Linked DNA regions of Homo sapiens: region 2 is linked to region 1. The links are contacts of gene promoters, found by promoter capture Hi-C in blood cells and fetal thymus (Javierre and others, 2016). All regions are on one chromosome and are shown on one strand. The core of a region is centred on a gene start or on the middle of the fragment in contact, and the rest is flanking DNA. Distances in the headings are between cores, read along the strand shown. Region 1 holds the start of LARP4 (La ribonucleoprotein 4). Region 2 holds the start of ATF1 (activating transcription factor 1).

Evidence for each region. The method cuts DNA at HindIII sites, captures the fragments that hold promoters and counts their contacts. A CHiCAGO score of 5 or more calls a contact.
Region 2: the fragment with the promoter of ATF1 here is called in contact with a fragment that was not itself captured in region 1 in 1 of 17 cell types (M2 macrophages); the score reaches 5.1 in M2 macrophages.

Annotation. Positions count from the first base shown.
Region 1 is chr12:50,398,666-50,404,944 of GRCh38, forward strand. LARP4 (La ribonucleoprotein 4) reads left to right here and starts at 2,220. Exons shown (of 16, transcript NM_052879.5): 1 at 2,220-2,363. The coding sequence starts at 2,346. The HindIII fragment of the contact is 1,014 bases long and covers 3,572-4,585 here.
Region 2 is chr12:50,762,759-50,768,271 of GRCh38, forward strand. ATF1 (activating transcription factor 1) reads left to right here and starts at 1,343. Exons shown (of 7, transcript NM_005171.5): 1 at 1,343-1,549. RefSeq lists silencers at 1,297-1,376, 1,597-1,686 and an enhancer at 2,107-2,206. The HindIII fragment of the contact is 10,692 bases long and covers 1-3,526 here.

The sequences.
Region 1 (6,279 bases), core at 2,829-5,328:
TGTATTTTTAGTAGAGAAAGAGTTTCACCGTGTTTGCCAGGACAGTCTCGATCTCCTGACCTCGTGGCCTCCCAAAGTGCTGGGATTACAGCCATGAGCCACCACGCCTGGCCATGAAGGCTTCTTAAAGTCAATTTTTAAATCCTGCTTCCCTTTCAATTCGACAAGCATTTGTTGAAACACTATGCAGCTTACATTATCCTAAACTGAAGAATATATGATAGGGTTCCTGTGAAGAAACTAAAACAAAAAAGAAAAGATTTAAGATAGAATATAATAATCAAGTGCTAATAAGGGACACGAAGAAGAGATCTGTAGAAGCAGAATCTTTGAGAAAACCTTATGGAGAGAGAAGGTTGATTGACAAATGGAGGCAATCCAGGTAGGGGCAACACCTTGAGCCATGGCTTTGGCGGTGAGTGCTAATGAGTTTGCATCTTAGGGGGAAAGTAAGGAGATTGGTTTAATCACTGAGATGACTTCACGGGAATTTACTGAGGACCACATTAGGGTGGGCCTGAGATAACAGATATCAGCAATTTGGTGGTGGAATTAATTTGGTATCTGAGGAGATTCCATTTGCGGCAAAGCAAGGAGGATTTCATGAGATCAGAATGGCAAAGTCTTGAAATCAAGTAACAGTGGTTTGGTGAAAATGAAACCTTCACTTTGGGAAGATTTTTTAAATAATAGAATGGAAAAATCCATTGGAAAAGATCAAGACATGATTATTTCATTTTTATTTATTATTATTATTTTTTAGAGACAGAGTCACACTCTGTCACCCAGGCTTGAGTGCAGTGGCGTGATCTTGGCTCACTGCAACCTCTGCCTCCCAGGTTCTAGCAATTCTCCTGCCTCAGCCTCCCACGTAGCTGGGACTACAGGCACACACTGCCATGCCTGGCTAATTTTTTGTATTTTACTAGAGATGGCATTTCACCATGTTGCCCAGGCTGGTCTTGAACTCCTGAGCTAAGGCAATCCACCCGCCTCGGCCTCCCAAAGTGCTAGAATTACAGGCGTGAGCCACGGTGTCCGGCCAATTTTTATTCGTTACTATTATTATTACTATATTTGAGACAGAGTCTCACTCTGTCACCCAGGCTGGAGTGCAGTGGCGCGATGTTGGCTCACTATTAACTCCACCTCCTGGGTTTAAGCGATTCGCCTGCCTCAGCCTCCCGAGTAGCTGGGATTACAGGTGTGCACCACCACACTTGGCTAATTTTTGTATTTTTAGTAGAGATGGGGTTTTACCATGTTGGCCAGGCTGGTCTTGAACTCCCGACCGCAAGTGATCCGCCCGCCTCAGCTTTCCAAATTGCTGGGATTATAGGCGTGAGCCACCCTTCCCAGCCAAGACATGATTATTTCAAAAGATGAGTGTTTGAACTAGGACATACAAGTGGGAGCGATCTATCCTACTACATATTGCTAAAGACAATAAGGAATTTGGACCATCTAACAAAAATTATAGATAATTTTAAAAATTTTGTTTTTATTGTATTTCGTTTGAATTAATGACAGAACGTCAAAGAAGACACTGTCCAGATTAAGTGTTATTACTGGTATATTAAGCGGTGACATGGGTAATTAATTCAAATGAGCCTGGGGCAAAGTTCTTTAAAGGGAAACCCGACCTCCTAGAGGGCTTCTTCAACTGTAAAATGGGGATGATAATAATAGTGTTTATTGCATAGAATTGTTTTAAGATCAATTAACATAAAATGCTTAGTATAGTGCCAAACACAATGTAAGCATTTAATATACATTAGCTGCTATTAACATATTTGCTAGTATCATAGTTTTTTGTTTTTTTTTTCTTGTCTACTTTTCTTCTGTGAGCCACCACTTTTCGGCAGGGTTGGTTTGTTCAGTACACTTCGCCAAGGTCGGCTTTAAAAATCAAATCTAGATTGTGAACTATGAAAACTGCGGAATTATCAGTGCTGTGTAGCTATCTGACAAGTGATAAAATGTGTCATTACGATTTTTACACATCCCCGTGCCACAGAATGGCGTCTCCTTCTAATCGTTCCCCCCGACAGATGATAGTACATCCCACACTGCTGCTGGAAAAGATAGTGCAAAAGTTGAGCGCGCCGAGGGCTCTCTTTTCTCCCGGAAACAATTTTTCCCTAGACCCGGAAGCAGTTGTTGTTTCAAGGGAGGTGGGACTGGGCGGGTCAGGCCGCAGCGGCTGACGGCAGGGGAGGAGCCGGGTCCACTGCCGGGTGGAGGGGCAAGGCGAGTGTGTGTCCTTATCCTAGCAATTGGGGCGCGGGCCTGTGAGCCAGTTGGAGTTGCGGCGGCGGGAACGATTGGGCTGAGCAGAGGACGACATGTTGCTTTTCGTGGAGGTGAGTGCATTATGCTAGTCTCGTCCTGCTCTTAGGAGAGCAGGAGTGTAGAGGCGCCGGCCGGTCCCACCGCCATGTGACTTTCCGGGCCGTACACGCCGCGGAACCGGCAGATAGGCTGACACAGCACCTGGGCCGAGCAGGCCTGCAGCTTCCCTCTGCGCGCTCACAACACTCTAGGAAGCTATGGGAGGTGAGGCCCGTAGTGGAGAAGAATTGAAGGAGAAAAACGGAGGGCTGTTCTGGTGTGGCGGTGAGGTTCAGAGGAAGGGGAAAGTGTCCCATATGGACCTCCTAAAGGAGGCAGCATTGGGGGGTTGGGGGGCGGAGTCTGAGGGAGGAGAGGGTAATCAGGTGGGCGCGTTCCGGGGGCCGAGCGCGGCCTCGCGGGGCCCCTCTGGGAGGGAGGCGAGCAACATGTGGGGCCACGGATGGAGAAAGGTGAAATGCGGTAAGTATTTTGAAAAGAAAATTGAAAAGTTCTTTTGAGCAACTTCCACCAAATTCTGCCCGGGCCCCGTCCCTAGGTCTCTGGAACGTTCTGTGGGTGAAAGCGAGTTACTTTGAATCGAGGAGAAGCCAGTAGGGTTTGGAAGCCTTGAAAGGCACCGCTTTGACCTTTTGTAAAAGTTACTCAAGCAGCAGCTGCGTGATGAAGGGTTGGTTCTATGAACCGATTAAAAGCCCTTTACAAGGAAAATTCCAAGAATGAGGGAAACTTATTCCGGGAAAAGCCGTTTTTTGTAATGTTATTTGAACAATGAGACACTTTTATTACTTAAACTAGAACGTCTGCTGTTGGCCTATTTTAGTTTTCAAGATAGAGTTGGATACCTGCCTTACAGAAATACGAAATTTAATTTCCCTTAATTCTGTCCTCTTGTGTGCAGTGAGCGTCAGCTGACTGCCTGGCTAATGCTTTGAGTAGATTCCAGATCATATTGTTCTTACATTGTGAAAACGTCAAACCAGCAAAGCTGCAACTTCGCAACTTGGCATTTGTTAACTATGCCCATAAGAAGAATCTTTTCAATGAGGGAAGGAATTTACGGGTTGTATAATGAATCTAGGAGCCGGGGCCAGCCTATGGCAGATTTTTTTTTCCGGGTTGTGGGAAAATCTTACTCCGTAATATTCCAGCATAAAGTAAATAAATGATTTTACGGTTTTTTTTTCTCTTTAAACTAACTGATATTGTGTCGCCGATAAGCTTGATATCTTTAAATTAGTTTTTTAAAAGACTGCTACATTAGAGTGTATCTAACATTCATAATAAACATTCATTGGAACATTCCGGGGAAATCATGAAAAGACTTAAAATTACTGAACTCATTCTGTTTACTGTTTTCTGTCCTCATTGTTGTTTTCCTTAGGCAGAATAAGAAATCAGATAAGATTTTAAGCCAGTGCCAGCCAGTTTTTTTAAGGAATGTTATGCTATGTAAATACCACAGGTTTTAAGTGTGTGTTTTGCTGGGCAGAAGAAAGATTGTGAAGTTTATATTGACAGGAACTCCACAATATACTTTTGACTTCCAAATTGATTCCTTTGGCTTTATTAAAATGTAAGTTTTAATAACAGCTCCATTTATTGTTTAAACTAGGTCTTCTCCTGTCTCTAAAGCGATACTTAATATGTTTTACAGATGACAAAACCGAGCCCCAGAGGTTAAAGTAACTTTACTTAGTAAAAGTAAAGTAGTTTAACTGGGATTTAGATCCAGGTCATGCTGATGTCAAATCATGGACGGGATGTTAGCAATTCAGGCCTGTCCGACTCCCCAGGTTAGACAAATTCTATCGTATCTCTCGCCAAACTAGTGTTTAAAAGTTGTATCTCCATTAATCATTTTCTTTGTGAGTCACTATGTCATTCTTCATTTTCTCATATGAGTTTTATTGAAAATTAACTGTCTTTAAATATTTGGGGCTGAATATGTGGTATTAAAATCAGTGAAAAACAACATGTTGGTCGTTTGGCGTTTTGTTAACTAATATTTGATCCCTGTAACCTCATGATAGAGGAATTATTCTCAGTGAGAGAACCAAAGCTCAGAAGTTAGATGTCTAAGGTCATTCAAGTGTAAATAATGTGGGGGCTAAAGTCTGAAGTCTGACTTCTAGAACATAAATTTCTGGCTTCAAAATTATTTTTGTACTTTCCCATAAGTCAAAGGTTCTTAATCTAGGTTTTTGGATAGAATTGAGGAAGTAAGTACCTAAGCTTGGTTGAGGAAAAAAATTTGCGTGTTTATTTTCTCTAGCTTCTAACTGAAATCTAAATGGAAAAGAAGTGAAAATTCTTTAAATGTTAATGGCAGCAACAGTGTATGTGACCTTGTCACCAAGACAAATCACTTTTTTACATGTATTACAGCTTTTGCAGTTATCTTGAAATATTTATGCTCATTACTTGCTATATGTCAAAAATATTGTTAACGTATTGCTATATTAGACATTTTAAAATATTTTGATAACTGCGTTTCAATATAATTGGTTTACTTTGTGATCCTATATATTTTAGAAATGTAAAAAAACGGAGAAGAGATCCATAGATTAATTGGACTACTAAAGAGGTCTGTGTCACAGAAGAGGTTAAGAACTGCTTTACTAAACCAACTTGCTTGTGGATCATCTTTGGCAGGGTTAATCTGGGATCCCTGGGTCCTCTGCAGTTGTGTTCAATACCTTTTACTTATGTGTATTTTTCTGGAGAGATTCCAGCTTAACTATCCCACTAGAATCAGTAGGATAGATAATAGCAATATAACAATAACAACAGTAGTAGTATATACTTGTATCGTGCTTTGTGTCAGGAACGTTTGATGTTTTTGCATATATAGATATCTGTACATCTTAAGTCTCAATATCTCTATGAGGTGTTAGTATCCCCATTTTAGTGATAAGTAAGGCAGCTGGGCGCAGTGGCTCATGCCTGTAATCCCAGCACTTTGGGAGGCTGAGGTGGGTGGCAAATCACCTGAGGTCAGGAGTTTGAGATCAGCCTGGCCAACATGGTGAAACCCCATCTCTACTAAAAATACAAAAATTAGCCAGAGGTGGTGGCACACACCTGTAATCCTAGCTACTCGGGAGGCTAAGGTAGGAGAATCGCTTGAACCTGGGAGGCAGAGGTTGCAGTGAGCTGAGATGGCACCACTACACTCCAGCCTGGACAACAGAGTGAGACTCTGTCTCAAAAAAAAGAAACTAAGGCACATATAATTTAAACTTGCCTAAGTTTATACAGCTAGTGAACATGGAAGCTTGTATTAGAACTCATCAACCACCTACTTGTATTGGAGTAGAATATATTGCAGACAAGGAATCAATCCTATGTAAATAATACTTAGATGCAACTTTTTAAAACCTGGCCTTGGGCCCAATGTGGTGGCATGTACCTGTAGTCCCAGCTACTAGGGAGGCAGAGGCAGGAGTTTCGCTTGAGTATGGGAGGTCAAGGCTGGAATGAGCCGTGATTGTGCCACTGCATTCCAGGCCGGGTGACAGAGCAAGACCAACTATATTGACTTCAGTAGATTATTGGTTTGTTTTATTTTTTTCCTCTTGAGACCGAGTCTCGCTCTGAGACCGAGGCTAGAGGGTGGCGCAGTCTCAGCTCACTGCAACCTCCGCCTCCTGGGTTCAAGCAGTTTTTTTTTTTTTTTTTTTTTTTTGAGACGGAGTTTCCACTCTTGTTGCCCAGGCTGGAGTGCAGTGGCGCCATCTCGGCTCACTGCAACCTCCACCTCCTGGGTTCAAGTGATTCTCCTGCCTCAGCCTCCCGAGTAGCTGGGACTGTAGGCGCATGCCACCACGCCCAACTAATTTTTGTATTTTTAGTAGAGATGGGGTTTCACCATGTTGGCCAGGATGGTCTCGGTCTCTTGACCTCATGATTCGCCCACCTCGGGCT
Region 2 (5,513 bases), core at 93-2,592, 360 kb after region 1:
ATACTAAAAAAGTTTATCTTTTGTCGTTTACTATCATTAAAGCCATAAAACAGCATTTTACAAGGAAATTTTAAAAATTAAGAATAAGGCATAACTCCCTTCCAGAGAGGTAGACCCAAAAATATTCTGAAGTTTTTGTAATGCATTAAAATGACGGCATAACATTTTATTAACACTCTGTTACGTTTCTTTTTTCTTTTTTTTTGAGACAGTTTTGCTCTTGTTGCCCAGGCTGGAGTGCAACGGTGCGATCTCGGCTCACCGCAACCTCCGCCTCCCGGGTTCAAGCGATTCTCCTGCCTCAGCCTCCCAAGTAGCTTGGATTACAGGCATTCGCCACCACACCCGGCTACTTTTGTATTTTTTAGTAGAGACGGGGTTTCTCCATGTTGGTCAGGCTGGTTTCGAACTCCCGATCTCAGGTGATCCGCCCTCCTGGGCCTCCCAAAGTGCTGGGATTACAGGCATGAGCCACCGCGCCCGGCCACATCGTTATGTCTCATTGTAAATCCGTTTCTGTAGAAAATCCTTCCACATGGGTTAAAGGACACAACTCATTGTTACTTTATGGGATTAAGAAAAATCTGAGTAAGGCCGGGCACGGTGGCTCACGCCTGTAATCCCAGAACTTTGAGAGGCCGAGGCGGAGGATCACTTGAGCCCAGGAGTTCAAGACCAGCCTGAGCAACATAGAGTCCTCATCTCTTCAAGCCGAGCGTGGTAGCGCGCGCCTGTGGTCCCAGCTGCCCCATAGGCTGAGGTTGGAGAATCGCTTGAATCCCGGGGTTGGAGGCTGCAGTGAGTCGAGATCGAACCACTGCACTACAGCCTGGGCCACAGACCCCCGTCTCAATCTCGGAAAAAAAAAAGAGACTCCATCTAAAAAAAAAAAAAAAAAAAAAAAGCTGAGGAAGTCAAAGCCTTCACTCTTCATTTCTCCTTCCAAGAGGACAGGGCCGGCGTCGGTCAAGGTCAATTGGCAGGTGAGTTGACAGCGCCGCCACTAATCGATGAAAACGCCCCCCGCGAGCACCCAGCTGCTCATGGCCTCCGGAAGCGGACGTAGGGCGGGTGGGGTACAGCTCCTAAGGAGAAACGGAACCGCAGGCACCGTCCCTCTCCCGCTGCAGCCTGAGGAACGCGTTCCGAGGAACCCCTAGCCACAAGTCAGGACCGCGTACAAGATGGCGGCGCGTCACGTGGGCAGCGCGGTGACGCAGGACGGCGGCCCGCGCGGAGGCAGCGCCATAGCCTACCCCAAACGCACACTAGTGCTCAGTTTTGCCCCCCTCCCCTCCCCCGCCCCCGCCCCCGCCCCCAGGCTTGTGTAGATCATGCCGCCAGTAGCGGCCCTGACTGCCGAGGAAACGGTAGCTTAGGACAGTTGGCTGTTAAGTGACACTGATTCTCCCCGCCCCGCCTGACCCCCGAGAAGGAGGCTTGTCCCCCGCTGCGTGAGGGGGTGGGGAAGTGGGTAGTGAATTCGGATCTACCTGGGAGGGGGGAGTGGAAGTTCCCGCCCCGGAGAGCGGCGAGGCGGCAGCCACAGGTAAGTGGGGGGCGGGGAGGGACGTGCCCCGTGGCCCGGGCGGGGAAGGACGCGGGAACGTGGCGCCGGCGGGGACGCAGCGCGGGTCGCGCGCCTGGTGGGGGTCGCGCGCGGTGGTGGCGGTGGGGGAGGGGCGCAGCGGCAGGGGGAGGGGCCGCCCGCGCTTCCGGCCTCCGCGCCTCGGTGCAGAGCTGCGCTGCGCCCTTCCAGTCGTGCGTCTCCTCCTTTCCCTCGCCCCCAAATAAAAGTAAAGCCCGAAACCGCCCGCCGCGGGGTGGCTTTCGCCTCAGAAGCCGCCCTTTGCAGTCGCAGGCGCTAGCTCTCCGTGGGAGGTCTCGAGGTTGGGCCCGGAGCCGGGCGGAGGGCGGCGCGGATATGGCCTCGGCGCGGTGTCCGCCGAGCGGAGCCCGGGTCTGGTTAACCCCGCGACAGGGTCCTCGAAGCGCGTCGGCGCTGGCGACCCTGAGGGAAGAGGCGCGCCCCTTACCCTCCTGGAGCTTGCAGTCTAGCGGGCAACCGACGCACGGGCATTGCGCACGCCCCAGACAGTCCTGGAGAGATGCGCCTGGCAGCGGAGACAGAGTGGGGACAGTAGGCGGCTTTACCCCTGGCTAGGAATGACACAAGGGCGTCTGTACCCTTTGGGATGGGCGACCCAGCCGAGGGTGACTTTCTCTTTGATCTTGTATGTCAAAAAACGAAGCCTGGCATTTCTCACTTTGATCGACGCCGTGCAGCTGGCGGCTGAATCGCTTTGAAATGATTGCAATGTGAAATAATGTCTGGTTGTGGCGCTAGTGTTTTGAAGAGATTGGGCAACTGGTAGTCTTTGAGAACCTTTAGGGTTCAGAAGCTCGGCGTGGATCTGGCAGGCATCTTTGTCAAACTGGCCTCACCTGTGATGAGTTCGTAGGCATTTATGTCTCAGAATGCATTTTAACCTGAGGTTTTTGTTAACAGAAATGCGTTCTTCTAAAATGCTCTTTTTTCTTGGAGTTTATCATATGCAGTTATCTCCGTGTCTTAATTAGAATCAATACTGTTGCCCTAAAGTCGAATGTATTAGCTCTTTAATACTTGCCGTTATCTTTTAGGGTTAGGTTTGGTCTGTGAGCTATCTGTCCATTCCTACCCGATCACCAGCAGGTGGCAGTCCCTTCTGACTTTAAATATAGGGTGTGCTATCTTTGCCAGTTTTTGTTTTGTTTTGTTTGTTTGTTTGTTTGTTTTTAAATAGAGATGGTGTCAGAGGCGTGTGAACTAGAACAACTCCATCTTAAACAGGAGCTGGGTAAAATGAGGCTGAAACCTACTGGGCTGCATTCCCAGACAGTTAAGGCATTCTAAGTCACAGGATGAGACAAGTCAGCACAAAATACAGGTCATGAAGACCTTGCTGATAAAACAGGTTGCAGTAAAGAAGCCGGCCAAAACTGAAATGGCCACAAGAGTGACCCCTGGTCATCCTCACTGCTACACTCCCATCAGCGCCATTTACAAATCCCATGGCAATGTCAGGAAGTTACCCTATATGGTCTAAAAAGGGGAGGCGTGATTAATCCACCCCTTGTTTAGCCTATCATTGAGAAATAACAGTAAAAAGGGGTAACCAGCAGCCCTTGGGGCTGCTCTGTCTATGGAGTAGCCGTTCTTTTTATTCCTTTACTTTCTTCATAATGTTACTTTTACATCGCACTGTGGACTTGCCCTGAATTATTTCTTGCGCGAGATCCAAGAACCCTCAGTTGGGGCCTGGATCAGGACGCCTGTCCTGTAACATATTTCTGGCGACCACAAAGGGACTATAGTGCAGAAACCCTGACCCAACGGCTACCTTTGGGTAAGTGTTGGGGTCCTGTAACGTATTTGTGGTGGCCACAGAAGCGACTATACTGCGGAAACCCAGTATTTATGTTTAGGAGTCTCTCCTAAGACAGTGGGTTCGAGGCCCCTCTTAATAAAAGGCAAGGACGCTTAAGCTTGACTGACCTTGGGTTGGAGGCCCTTCTAAGATATAGGGAGTTAGAGTCCCTCTCAGGTAACTCCCTCTCAGCTAAGAACAGGTTTGGCACTATGGGATATTAACTGCTGTTCTCTTTGGATTAATCTGCCTTGCGCTCTTTGCTGATGGCTGTGGGTGACAGAGTTAGGCATGAACAGGATCGTGGGACATGGGGAGCTTTTTCCTCTCTAAAAGGGGAGTCTTTTTTTTTTTTAATTTAAGTTTTAGGGTACATGTGCACATTTTGCAGGTTAGTTACATATGTATACATGTGCCATGCTGGTGCACTTCACCCACTAACTCGTCATCTAGCATTAGGTATATCTCCCAATGCTATCCCTCCCCCCTCCCCCCATAAAAGGGGAATCTTGAGAGCTGATGGGACTGCTGGAAAAGGTCCCTTTGCTGCGTACAAGCGGCTGCCTGAGGTTTTCATTGTCGGCTGCAATGAGTGGGTCTTTTCTCTGGCCTCCCTAAGCTCTTCAGCTTCCCCACCCTGCCACAGGCAATACTTTTCTTATCTACTTTGCGTTTCTTATTTTTTCTATTACTCAGGGCAACCATCTTACCTAGAGGCCACATGTTGAAACTCCAAGTCGGAGGTTGAATTAAAGATGACAGGCCCATCTGGGGGCAAATTTAAGCCTTGCTAGTTTGATATTGGGTGCTAAGCGGAGTGGCTAATGTCTTTGTTTTATCACACGTATTTTGCTCTGGCCAGAATGGAAAAAACATAATTTTCCTTTATGATACGGCTTGGCCCCCAGGGCAATGATGCTGCAAGCTTGAACACTAGGACCACTAAGGGAAAGGGAACCCAGAAGCCTGGGATGCTGGCAAAAGGGTAAGAATGTATTACCAGTCAGATTTCTGGCTTCTCTCTCACTGTACAAATGGTTAAGTGAATGGTTAAAAAAAAAAAAATCAGCCTGGCACGGTGGCTCAGGCCTGTAATCCCAGCACTTTGGGAGGCTGAGGCTGGTGGATCCCCTGAGGTCAGGAGTTTGAGACCAGCCGTGGCCAACATGGTGAAACCCTATCTCTACTAAAAATACAAAAAATTAGCTGGGTGTGGTGGCGTGCGCCTGTAGTCCCAGCTACTTGGGAGGCTGAGGCAGGATAATCACTTGAACCCGGGAGGCGGAGGTTGCAGTGAGCCGAGATCGTGCCACTGCACTCCAGCCTGGCAACAGAGCGAGACTCCATGTCCATCTCAAAAAAAGAAAAAAAAGAACACCTGTAAGCTCGCTTTTCAAGATGACCCAGCAAGCTGGTCAGTAAGATACTTGGCTGCAGGTCCCTGTAACAAATAAAAGACTGGATGAAGTCTCCACCTTGTTTTACGTCCTTGGGAGCTTGACCTTTTAACCATGTGGTGGTACTTTCTTTTGGTCCCCACCTTCAGAGAACAGGAATTTCAGGATTCATGTCATAGTTAGCTCTAAAAATAATATTAAATAGTTAAAAGCCCTTATAAGCTCAAAATTAACTACTCTAGACTCCTTCTGGGAAGGTCAACAGAGACTGCCCTGTGCTGTAGCTCAGTAGCTAAGCTTTTGCACTTTCTTTTTTTTTTTTTTTGAGATGGAGTCTTGCTCTGTCGCCCAGGCTGGAGTGCAGTGGTGCGATCTCAGCTCACTGCAACCTCCGCCTCCCGAGTTCAAGTGATTTGCCTGCGTCATCTTCCCAAGTAGCTGGGATTACAGGTGTGTGCCACTACGCCCAGCTAATTTTTGTATTTTTAGTAGAGATGGGGTTTCATCATATTGGGCAGGCTGGTCTCGAACTCCTGACCTCAGGTGATCCACCTGCCTCAGCCTCCTAAACTGATGGGATTACAGGCATGAGCCACCGCACCCAGCCAGCTTTTGCACTTCCGTGGCAACAGTCCAGGTTCAATTACCCACCTAGGAAGTAAGTCGTTTCTGGTTTAATATCTGCATGACTTTGTCTATTCTCTTC